Regions from separate parts of the Homo sapiens genome. Here regions 1, 3 and 4 are each linked to region 2. Evidence: promoter capture Hi-C in 16 types of primary human blood cells and fetal thymus (Javierre and others, 2016). All regions are on one chromosome and are shown on one strand. The core of a region is centred on a gene start or on the middle of the fragment in contact, and the rest is flanking DNA. Distances in the headings are between cores, read along the strand shown. Region 1 holds the start of LOC124902577 (small nucleolar RNA U13). Region 2 holds the start of SYNPO2L-AS1 (SYNPO2L antisense RNA 1). Region 3 overlaps ANXA7 (annexin A7). Region 4 overlaps CFAP70 (cilia and flagella associated protein 70).

Region 1 (2,700 bases), core at 128-2,627, 350 kb before region 2:
CATGGCTCACTTCTCCCTTGAACTCCTGGCCTCAAGCAACCCTCCTGCCTCAGCCTCCCTAGTAGCTGAGACTACAGGTGTGTGCCACCACACCCAGTAATACTTTAAATGTAAAATGCCCTTTTCTTCCCAGCTGAGAGACCACCAGCCAAAGATTAAACACTGTATGCTATATGCCATTGATCACAAATGGAACCAGCAATGAAAATACGTAAAGCTTCAAACAAGTTTTCACCCCTTCTGGAAGACATATTAAAGAGTCCATGCAATTAACAAGTGCATGCACTCAATATCTTATTACTTATCATTTCAACTTGGCTTTGGCACTTGCCTTCTGAGCTCCTCCTGTCCGACGGGTAAGAGGAGGCCTTGGAGGAATCATTTCCTTGACCCTGTATCAGGAAAGAAAAAAAATAAAAAAACAAAAAAAAATTTATTATCTACAGATGTATATTTTCTTTTATCTTATCCTCAAAGTGTCTGGGTGGGGGAGATCTGAGGTCTGTTCCCCCACTGCACTTGAGCACTGTGCTGTTCTCTCATGTAAAACCCTAGATGTGAACCACAGCAAAGTATATGGCTACGGACCATACAGAAGGGAGGTGAGGAAGCAGCTACTCAGGGAGTATCTAAGTTGTATTTTTGGTTAATTTGAGCCCTGGCTTTACCCTTACGTATTTAAAAACTTGTGGTATACAAGGGCTGTTTGACTGGGGTTTTGGAAAGAAATGGGTGTCAACATTTTAGAGGCACTCAGTAACATCTCTGAAAGCAGAATGATTTGGAAATCTGAGTGGAATAGGCAAGCAAAACCTCTTCTTTCCTCCCCGTCTACAATAAAAGTGTACTCTTGGCATAATTTATAGGGCTGCATTAAATTACAATAATGCTATCAAAACTTAATCCAAAATGTGAGTAAAAAACCACATTTTGTCAATGTCAAACTACTTATGTCAAAACCTCTACCTTCTATTTTCAGAAGCCCTTACAAGAACCTAGAAGGAATTAAGTTATAGCTCTTCTCCCTTTTAGTTTCAGGTTCTTGCTAAATATATTATACTACCTTGAAGTCCACAATCAAACTCACAAAATCTATTTTTCTTACTAGATCCTATGTAATGATATACCTCTGTTCATAATTACTAATTTTAATTCTATTTATTTAAATAGGTAATCTATTTATATTATTCAAAATTTAGAAGGTACGAAACTGTATAGCAAAATATCTCCTTCCAACCTTATTGCCCAGCCTCCTAGTTTCCTCTCCAGAGACAATGTTATTCATTCATTCAAAATAGATACTGAGAGGCCAGCCATGGTGGCTCATGCCTGTAATCCTAGCACTTCGAGAGGCCGAGGCGGGTGGATTGCCTGAGCTTAGGAGTTCGAGACCAGCCTGAGAAACATAGTGAAATCCTGTCTCTACTAAAATGAAAAAAATTAGCTGGGTGTAGTGGTGTGTGCCTATAGTTCCAGCTACTCAGGAGGCTGAGACATGAATTTCTTGAACCTGGGAGGCAGAGGTGCAGTGAGCTGAGATCGCACCACTGCATTCCAGCCTGGGCCACAGGGCAAGACTCTGTCTCCCAAAAAATAAAAAAATAAAAATAGATACTGAGTGCTTATTTTCCATCAGGTAGTTTTCTAGGTTTGGGAATAGAGCATTAAACAAAATAGACAAAAATTCTTACCCTCATGGAGCTTACATTCTAGTAGGGAAAGAAAGACAATAAATAAGATAAACAAACAAGATAAATATGCTAGTAATATGTCCCATAGAGAAAAATAATGCAGGAAGGCAGACAGACTCTATTGGGGGTTGAGGGTAGTGGAATGCAGGAGCATATTTCACCAGGAAGGCCTCGCTGAGATGTTAACGTTTGAGTAAAGACCTGAGGGAAGTGAGGAAGCAACTGACATAGTTTGGATATTTGTCCCCATCCAAATCTCATGTTGAATTATAATCCCCAGTGTTGGAAGTGGGGCCTGGTGGGAAGTGTCTGGGTCATGGAGGTGGATGCCTCATGGCTTGGTGCTGTCTTCATGATAGTGAGTAAGTGCTTGCAAGATCTGGTCATTTAAAAATGTGTGGCACCTCCCCCAACTCCCTCCCTGCTCTCTCTGTCTTTTGCTCCTGTTTTGACAATGAAATATTATTTGGTAATAAAGAAATTAAGTATTGATATATGCCACAATATGAATAAACCTTAACAACATTAGATTAAATGAAAGAAGCCAGTCACCACATATTGTATGATTCCAGAGTTGGCAAATCTATAGAGAAAAAAAGTAGATAAACGGCTGCTTAGACTTGGGGGTTCAGGGTGGAAGAGGTGGCATGATGGTTGAGAGGAAAAGGAGAATGACTGCTAATGTACATGGGATTTCAACTTTTGGGGTAATGATAGTATATATAAAGTTGACTATGGAATGGCTACACAATTCTGTGAGTATACTAAAAGCCACTGAATTGTACACTTTATTTTATTTTTATTTTTCTAAGTTCACATCGGACAGGTAATATGATGATGTCACAACAAAGCTTGAGGGAGGCACAGCTCATGTATGAGCATGAACACCCAATCATCACGCTTATGAACTACAAAGGGATCAGAACTGGATACTTTAAATGGGTGAACAAAATGAAAGAAAAGGTGATGGTGGTAGAGAAGTATATGGTATGTGAATAATATCTCGAAA
Region 2 (2,700 bases), core at 99-2,598:
AAACAAAAATCCTGCGTTCATGCTATCCTCCCACCTCAGCCTCCCAAAGTGCTTGGATTACAGGTATGAGCCACCTTGCCCCGCCTTCAACCTGCTTTTAAATACTCCCCTGTCCTGTGTCTGTACTCTGCTTTCACCCAATCATGACACACAATAACAATTATCACCACCACCAAACCCTTCATCTATTTGTGTCCCTTTCCAATTTCCCTACTTACCCTGTTCCTGGGTTGAACTGAATCACCTTACCCTTTTGCCACATTGGTTCAAACAGCAAAAATAATGGTGGCCATGAGAATAATTATGCTCCCCTTCTACTCATTACCCCTCCTGTCCCCAAGACTGTATCCAAGGGTCCCAAGGTAGGGAGAATGTACGGCTATAGAAGGCTGGATTTAAGGCTCAGATTGAAGGATCCTGGCTGGGGAAAAGGGGTTCAGGCACTCACTGGCTTGCTTGGCCTTCTGGGTGTAGGTGGTAGTAAGATCTTCTGCCACTGGGTGGGGAACAGGCCCCACCATAGGGATGAGATGAGGACCAGGTCGGAGGGGGCCATGGGGTAACAGCAGAGCCTCAGCTGGGGGTGGCTGAAGGGCTGCCCCATCCTCCCAAGACGGGGAGCTCACACGGCTGTCACCCTGGCTGGGAGGGCCAGGGATAGTAGGTGCTGGCTCTGCAGGGCTGTCAGACAGGTAGACCTCATCAGGTGGGGCACCCGGAGGGGTGGGCCTTGTGGGGCCTCGGCGGCGAGGTCGACGGGGCTTCTCCTGGGTGGCAGGGCCATCAGCATCACTGTCAGTCTCTCCGTAGTAAGCCTCACTATCAGGAGGTGAACGAAGGCTCCCAGGCTGAAGAGGCTGAGGAACTGGAGCACCAGGGGGCTCAGGACTTAGTGGAGATAAGGGTGACAGCACCTGAAGCTCATGGGGAGATGGAGATTGCACAGGACCCTCGTCTGCTAACCTGGATAGGAAAGATGACAGAGCTTGAGAGATGGGCTGGGTACTGACAGCTAGAGAGATCTGGAAGGGATGGAGGGAAGAGGTAAGGGGGAGGGAAGAGGTAAGGGAGAGAGAAGGCTGTCATACAGTTGGAATGGGTGGGCCGGGAAGAGTGGAGATATGAAGACAAACTGGGAGGCAAATGTGCTTGAAGGGCTGTGAGTGGAAATAGGCTTAGAGGAAGATGTAATGAGGAGGAAACAGGCCAGGGGTTGAAGTAGGCTCATCAGTCAAATACCCACTGACATCCCCATCCCTTAATTGCAGATACATTCAAGCCCTCTGGGAGGCAGACACAAACCATCTGCACTCCAGCAGAAACGCACGAGCAGAAATAGGTACCTGTTAGTTGCTAAAGCCAGGCCAGTGAGACATAGAGCTGAGACAGGCAATGGGAGCCCTGGATTAGGGGAAGAGAAGAGGAGAGAGGTCCATACCGCTGCACAGTGAGGACAAGCTGATTTCCTGAGGCATCGATGAGGCTCATGGCACTGGCATGGGAGAGGTTGGTGCAAGAGACCCCATTGATTGCCAAGAGCTGGTCCCTCTCTCGGAGTCCTGCTCTGCCAGCCTGGCTCCGTCTTCGAATCTGAGATGTTGAAGGAGACACTGTAGGTAAGAGGGGGCTCCAAAGGGAATAGAATGAAAGGAAAAGATGGGAAGGACCCACAGGAGGGGATTTTACTTTGCAGGGTAAGAAGGGTGGGGAGATGCATGGAAGTGGCTGCAGTTGAAGTGGCCTGTCTAGAGGGAAGAAAGTATACAGACTGGAGAAAGAAATACATCATATGGTGGGAAATAGGGTAACCATTGAATGAAAGAGGCTTGGGAAGAACTGCATGGGGTAGGTAACTAGAAATGGTGGTTATTGGCTGGGTGCAGTGGCTCACGCCTGTAAGCCCAGTGCTTTGGGAGGCCTAGGTGGGTGGATCACTTGAGATCAGGAGTTTGAGACCAGCCTGGCCAATGGGTGAAACGCTGTCTCTACTAAAAGTACAAAAATCAGCTGGCCGTGGTGGTGTGCGCCTGTAATCCCAGATACTTGGGAGGCTGAGGCAGGAGAATTGCTTGAACCCAGGAAGCAGAGGTTGCAGTGAGCCATCATGTCACTGCACTCCAGCCTGGGCAACAGAGTAAGACTCTGTCGCAAAAAAAAAGAAAAGAAAAAAAACGGAAAGAAATGGTGATTATCTCCACAAGCTTTTTCTCCAAGGGCAATATCTATATTGGCTGGTAATTCTCTACTAGGCCTTGTAACCCCAGGCGCCATTACACAGTCAAGATTTTAGAACAGTACTCCAGGTTGGAGGGAGTCCAGCGGTATTCTGGGAGATTGTGATTATTTGGGTATATGTGTGCCATGTATACACACAAATGTATATATGCCAAAGTAATAATAGTAGTAGTGGCTACCATTTATTGAGTTCTTACTAAGTGTTGGGCACTGTGCTACATGTATTATTGCATTTAATCCTTAGAATGGTTCCATGAAGTAGGTACAGGTACTATTATTACCCACATTTTACAGTTCGGAAAACTAAGCCTGTAGGGTGAAACCAAAAGGATAATGACTTCATCTGTGAGGCCAGATCTTGCCATAACCCTCCTAGCACCTAAAAAAGTCTTGCCTAGTGAGAGAAAGGATCTGACCTAGGGAAAGAGCACTGAAGGCATGGGCAGGGCAGGGTGAGGCAGGGTA
Region 3 (2,700 bases), core at 28-2,527, 270 kb before region 2:
AAAAAGAAGTAAATAAATTTAAAGTCTGTTACACTTACACATTTATTACACTCAAGCAGATCTATTTTATTCATTCTATCAATAAACATTTAATAAAATCTTATTCCACTCTACCAGGTACAAAAACAAGGGATATATGAAACAAAGAATTATTCAAACTGACAAAATGATAAACAGATATTTACTTAGTAAAAGGAACTGTTCTTGGTTCTATGAGGAAGTAGAAACCATTATCATCTTGTTCTTATTTGTTTTTTGTTGTTATTTTTTTTGAGACAGAGTCTCGCTCTGTGGCCCAGGCTGGAATGCAGTGGTGTGATCTCGGCTAACTGCAACCTCTGCCTCCTGGGTTCAAGCGCTTCTCCTTCCTCAGCCCCCTGAGTAGCTGGGACTACAGGCACATCCCACCACGCCAGGCTAATTTTTGTATTTTTAGTAGAGATGGGGTTTCACATGTTGGCCAGGCTGGTCTTGAATGCCTGACCCCAAGTGATACACCCGCCTTGGCCTCCCGAAGTGCTGGCATTACACACATGAACCACTGTGCCCAGCCGATATTGTTCTTATTTGGAAAGATACACATCTAAAAAAAAAATAATGTAAGGTAACCTGTACTCTAGCACTGGGTAAGTAGCATAGAAATAAGTAATAGAGAAAGTTGAAACAGAAAAAGTTCAAAGTCAGCTGGAGAGCTCAGAGAAAAATGTAAAAATTAGCATGCAAAGACGAAGGAGAAAGGTATTTCAGGTAAGAAGGAACACCACCAAGGAACAGAGAAGGGGTTCCCAGCCTTGACTCTTCATTACATTCATTGTGGAGCTTTAAAAAAAAAAAGAAAAACATTGATGTCCAGGACTAAGACTCAGAGATTCTGTGTATTTTTAAGTTTTAAAGGAAATTACGATGTTCAGTTAAGGTTGAGAATTACTCGTATAGAGCCAAGAATGAGCAAAGCTTGTTCAATGGAACAATAAGACAACCGGTTTTGCTACAGAGGAAGGTTTTCATAATAGATGAGTTAAAACAAAGTTGTAACTAAATCTTGGATTATTACACTGAATGCCAAGCTAAAGAATATGGACTTGATTCTGTTTGCTGGGAGGAACCACTGGAAACTTTTCATGCAAGAAAATGGCACTGATGTAGCAACAATATTCAGAATGGATGATGGTGACAAAGAAGCTATAGATGAAAACATTTAGGCTACTGGAATATTTAGTTAAGAGGTAATAAAGTCTTGGACTTGAATGGTAACAATGGAAATGAGAAGGAACAAAGTAGACAAAAGAAACATTTTAAAGGGCCATTTTATAGATTAGATCAATAAAAACTAGTAAATAACCAACTGCTAGGACAAAGCATACAGAATACTCCCTATGATAAAAGAAAAACATGGACTCAAAGATGACTATAGCAGGCTAGAAAAACAGTGTTTTACTAATTAGGAAGTTAAGAAAAGAGGTGGCTAGTGGTACGGAAATTAGATTGTTAGTTTTAATTCTAAAGCAATATATAAAAAAACTTGAGACAGCATTGTGCAGACTAGATAAAAAATTCATAACATGGAAAATATCTTTGTGAGAATAGTGAGTCTGATGTTGAAGCTTAAGGAGATCTAGGGTTTGTGTTGCATAATCAGTCACTGGGCTGGGCAGACAGGGAAAGGCAAAATAGAATAAGCAAGGTGGGACCAATCAATGGACCACTACCCCATTCTGAGAAATATAAACTAGATGCAGAGAACATTAGGATATTTTTAGGATTCCTATCTAAATGGCAAAGCAGGTCAGGCGTGGTGGCTCATGCCTGTAATCCCAGCACTTTGGGAGGCCAAGGCAGGCAGATCACATGAGGCCAAGAGTTTGAGACCACACTTGCTAACATGGCAAAATCCCGTCTCTACTAAAAGTACAAAAATTAGCTGGGTGTGGTGGCAGACACCTATAATTCCAGCTACTCGAGAGGCTGAGGCACGAAAATCGCTCTTGCCTGGAAAGTGGAGGCTGCAGTGAGCGGAGATCATGCCACTGCACTCCAGCCTTTTGAGACTCTGTCTCAAAAAAAAGTAAAAAAAAAAAAAAAAAAAGCAAAGCAGTGCTATCCATGTTTTCCCATTACATCTGAGGAACAATGGCATTTTTTAGCCATAGAATCTTGTTGGATTTAGAAACTGATCATCCATTCAACAAGTACTAAGTGGCTACTTGCCATTATATACTTGGTACTGTAATACAAAGATGACTATGACCATGGTTTGTCCTATGGGAGCTCAGTTTTTGGGGGTGGGCCGTGAGATTAGTAATAACAGAGGTTTTACAAAGTGCTATGGGACTACAGTATTAAGAAGCAGCTAAATTCTGTCCAGACTAATGAAAGAAACTTCAGAGTAGCTGATATTTAAGCCAAATCTTAAAGAAGTTTGCCATGAAAAAAAGAAAAGGTATTCAAGGCCAGGAGAATGGCATGTACACAACACAGAAGCATAAAAGATCATGGCGTGTACAGAGAATGGCAAGCATTTCCATATTATTTTTTTTTGAGACAGCGTCTTGTTCTGTCACCTAGGCTACAGTGCAGTAACACAATCACAGCTCACTAACAGCCTGACTTCCTGGGCTCAAGCAATCTTTCTACCTCAGCCTCCCAAGCAGCTGGGACTATGGACACACGCCACCACGCCCAGCTAATATAATTTGTTGT
Region 4 (2,700 bases), core at 164-2,663, 380 kb before region 2:
AGTAAGCTCTTAACTTATACCCCTTTCTTCCTTCCCTCTACAGCGGTCCCATCAGGACATCTATAAACCATGGAGTTTCAGGTGCAAGGTTGGAAATCCACAGGAACTCACTCTCATGTGTGCATCATTCAGTGATTTCTCCACACACAGTGGGCTGTCAGATACATTTATAGTTTTTTTTCTTTACATTGTGCATCCTTTTCTTGAGGTAAAAATCTGATTTGCCTGTTGAAATACTATTGTCCAGAAAGCTTTCTTTCCCCTAGTATCAGTTATTAACAGCCCAATCCCGAGCAATCAATGCAGTATTCAGAAACTCTAGGGTGCACTCTGGGCTCTGGGCACGTGGAAATTGTTGCTGCTTCCTAAAACTGTGAGTTTGCTTTGTTGCTTTGTAAAACATTCCAAAAGGCTCTCCCTTCCCCAGTAAAGTAGCTCTTTTTTTCCTTTCTTTTTTCTTTTCTTTTCTCTTTTCTTTCCTCTCCTCTCCTCTCTCCTCTCCCCTCCCCTCCCCAGCCACCCTTTTCTTTTCTCTTTTCTTTTCCTTTTCTTTTCCTTCCCTTCCCTTCCCCTCCCCTCCCCTCCCCCTCCCCTCCCCTCCCCTTCCCTTCTCTTCGACAGAGTCTCGCTGTACTGCCCAGGCTGGAGTGCAATGGCATGATTTCAGCTCACTGCAACCTCCGCCTCCCAGGTTTAATCGATTCTCTTGCCTCAGCCTCCCAAGTAGCTAGAATTACAGGTGCCCACCACCACACCCAGCTAATTTTTGTATTTTTAGTACAGACGGGGTTTCACCACATTGGCCAGACTGGTCTCAAACTCCTGGCCTCAAGTGATCTGCCCACCTTGGCCTCCCAAAGTGCTGGGATTACAGGCATGAACCACCTGTGTCCAGCCTACTTTTTCTGCTTTAAAATAATTAAATAATGGGTTTCTAGGCCAAAGACAAGAGATGGCCTTTCACCCACACCCATACTTTGGCCCACACTTTGAAGTCTCTGAGACATTGATTCATTATTTAATCAACCTACATTTGCCAAGGATTTGCTCTGTGTCAGGCAGTATGCTAGATGCTGGGAGTAAAAAAATAAAATCCCGTAGTCCCAGGTACTCAGGAGGCTGACGCAGGAGGATCAACCGAGCCCCGGAGGCAGGGATTGCAATGAGCTGAGATTGAGCCACTGTACACCAGCCTGGGTGACAGAGCAAGATCCTGTCTCAAGTAAATAAATAAAATACAATATCTGCCCTCAAAGGGCTCACTGACAGATGTGTGAAAAACAAAACACAGGCCGGGTGCGGTGGCTCACGCCTGTAATCCCAGCACTTTGGGAGGCCGAGGTGGGAGGATCACCTGAGGACAGGAGTTTGAGACCAGCCTGGCCAACATGGCGAAATCCTGTGACTACTAAAAACACAAAAATTAGCTGGGTGTGGTGGCACATGCCTGTAATCCCAGCTATTCAGGAGGCTGAGGCAGGAGAATCACTTGAACCCAGGAGGCAGAGGTTGCAGTGAGCCAAGATGGCGCCACTGCACTCCAGCTTGGGTGACAGAGCTATAAGAAGATACCAATACTATACTGTTAAGTCGAAAAAAGGTTACAAAGCAGTAAATATTTACATTTTATACATTAAAATTGCTTTCATATATATGAAAAAAGACGGGAGGAAAGTACATTCAAATGTTAACAGTGGTTATCACCAACTTGTGGAGTTACGGATACTTTAATGTTTTCTTCATATTTTGTATCTATTTGTCTATTTATTTTTAGAGGTGAGGTTTTGCTCTGTCACCCAGCCTGGAGTGCAGTGGCACAATCATGGCTCACTGCAGCCTCTAACTTCTGTGTTCCCACCAAGCAATCCTCCCACCTTAGCCTTCCAAGTATCTGGGACTACAGGCACATGCCACCATGCCTGGTTAATTTTTAATGTTTTTGTAGAGATGGGGGTCTTGCTCTGTTGCCCAGGTTGGTTTCTCTCAAACTCCTAGGTTCAAGAGATCCTTCAGCCTCAGCCTCCCAAAGTGCTGGAATTACAGGTGTGAGCCACTGCTCCTGGCTTCTTCTAAAGTTTCTATAATGAACACATATTATCTTTATGGCTGAAAAACAGCAATGAGGGGCTAAGTGAGGTGGCTCACACCTGTAATCCCTGCACTTTGGGGTGGATCACTTGAGGTCAGGAGTTCAAAACCAGCCTGGTCAATATGGTGAAACCCCATCTCTACTAAAAATACAAAAATTAGCCTGGCATGGTGGTGGGCACCTGTAATCCCAGCTACTCAGGAGGCTGAGGCAGGAGGATCACTTGAACCCAGGAGGCAGAGGTTGCAGTGAGCTGAGGTGACACCACTGCACCACTGCACTCTAGCCTGGGAGACAGAGCGAGACTCCATCTCAAATAAATAAATAAATAAATAAATAAGTGAGTAAGCTATTCAAAGAAAGGGAGAGACATGGAGTCAATAATATGCCTGAAGAAATTAGGCAGGAACAAGAGGATGTTTGCCTCTTTGAAGACTGGAGGAAATGAGGGAAGGTTAAGTAAAGAGTTTTTAGGAGAAGCAGAGCAAAAGCTTCTGCCAGAAGTTACAGCAACTCCTCCTGCATATCAAAGGGTCACAGTGCTTAGTAAGTGTCAATCAATTTCTTTAATTGACTTGAATAGATTCTTCATCTCCCATATCACCTTTTTC

Evidence for each region. Contacts are between HindIII fragments. The CHiCAGO score rates a contact against its expected background, and 5 or more counts as called.
Region 1: a fragment that was not itself captured here is called in contact with the fragment with the promoter of SYNPO2L-AS1 in region 2 in 2 of 17 cell types (endothelial precursors and erythroblasts); the score reaches 5.9 in endothelial precursors.
Region 3: a fragment that was not itself captured here is called in contact with the fragment with the promoter of SYNPO2L-AS1 in region 2 in 1 of 17 cell types (endothelial precursors); the score reaches 5.4 in endothelial precursors.
Region 4: a contact is called between a fragment that was not itself captured here and the fragment with the promoter of SYNPO2L-AS1 in region 2, in 4 of 17 cell types (endothelial precursors, erythroblasts, M2 macrophages and 1 more). The highest score is 8.1, in endothelial precursors.

Annotation. Positions count from the first base shown.
Region 1 is chr10:73,299,274-73,301,973 of GRCh38, forward strand. CFAP70 (cilia and flagella associated protein 70) reads right to left here. Exons shown (of 28, transcript NM_001367801.1): 14 at 332-392. It overlaps LOC124902577 (small nucleolar RNA U13), which reads right to left and starts at 2,611; the gene lies at 2,508-2,611. The HindIII fragment of the contact is 2,325 bases long and covers 216-2,540 here.
Region 2 is chr10:73,652,691-73,655,390 of GRCh38, forward strand. SYNPO2L-AS1 (SYNPO2L antisense RNA 1) reads left to right here and starts at 1,349. Exons shown (of 3, transcript NR_187519.1): 1 at 1,349-1,616. It overlaps SYNPO2L (synaptopodin 2 like), which reads right to left. Exons shown (of 4, transcript NM_001114133.3): 2 at 1,439-1,590; 3 at 449-963. The HindIII fragment of the contact is 5,539 bases long and covers 1-2,199 here.
Region 3 is chr10:73,384,148-73,386,847 of GRCh38, forward strand. All of the region lies in intron 7 of ANXA7 (annexin A7), which reads right to left. Among named protein-coding and RNA genes, the nearest start is that of CFAP70, 27 kb to the left of the region's middle. The HindIII fragment of the contact is 650 bases long and covers 953-1,602 here.
Region 4 is chr10:73,269,940-73,272,639 of GRCh38, forward strand. The region is part of intron 25 of CFAP70 (cilia and flagella associated protein 70); the gene reads right to left. The region is part of intron 2 of DNAJC9-AS1 (DNAJC9 and MRPS16 antisense RNA 1); the gene reads left to right. Among named protein-coding and RNA genes, the nearest start is that of MRPS16, 19 kb to the left of the region's middle. The HindIII fragment of the contact is 2,329 bases long and covers 250-2,578 here.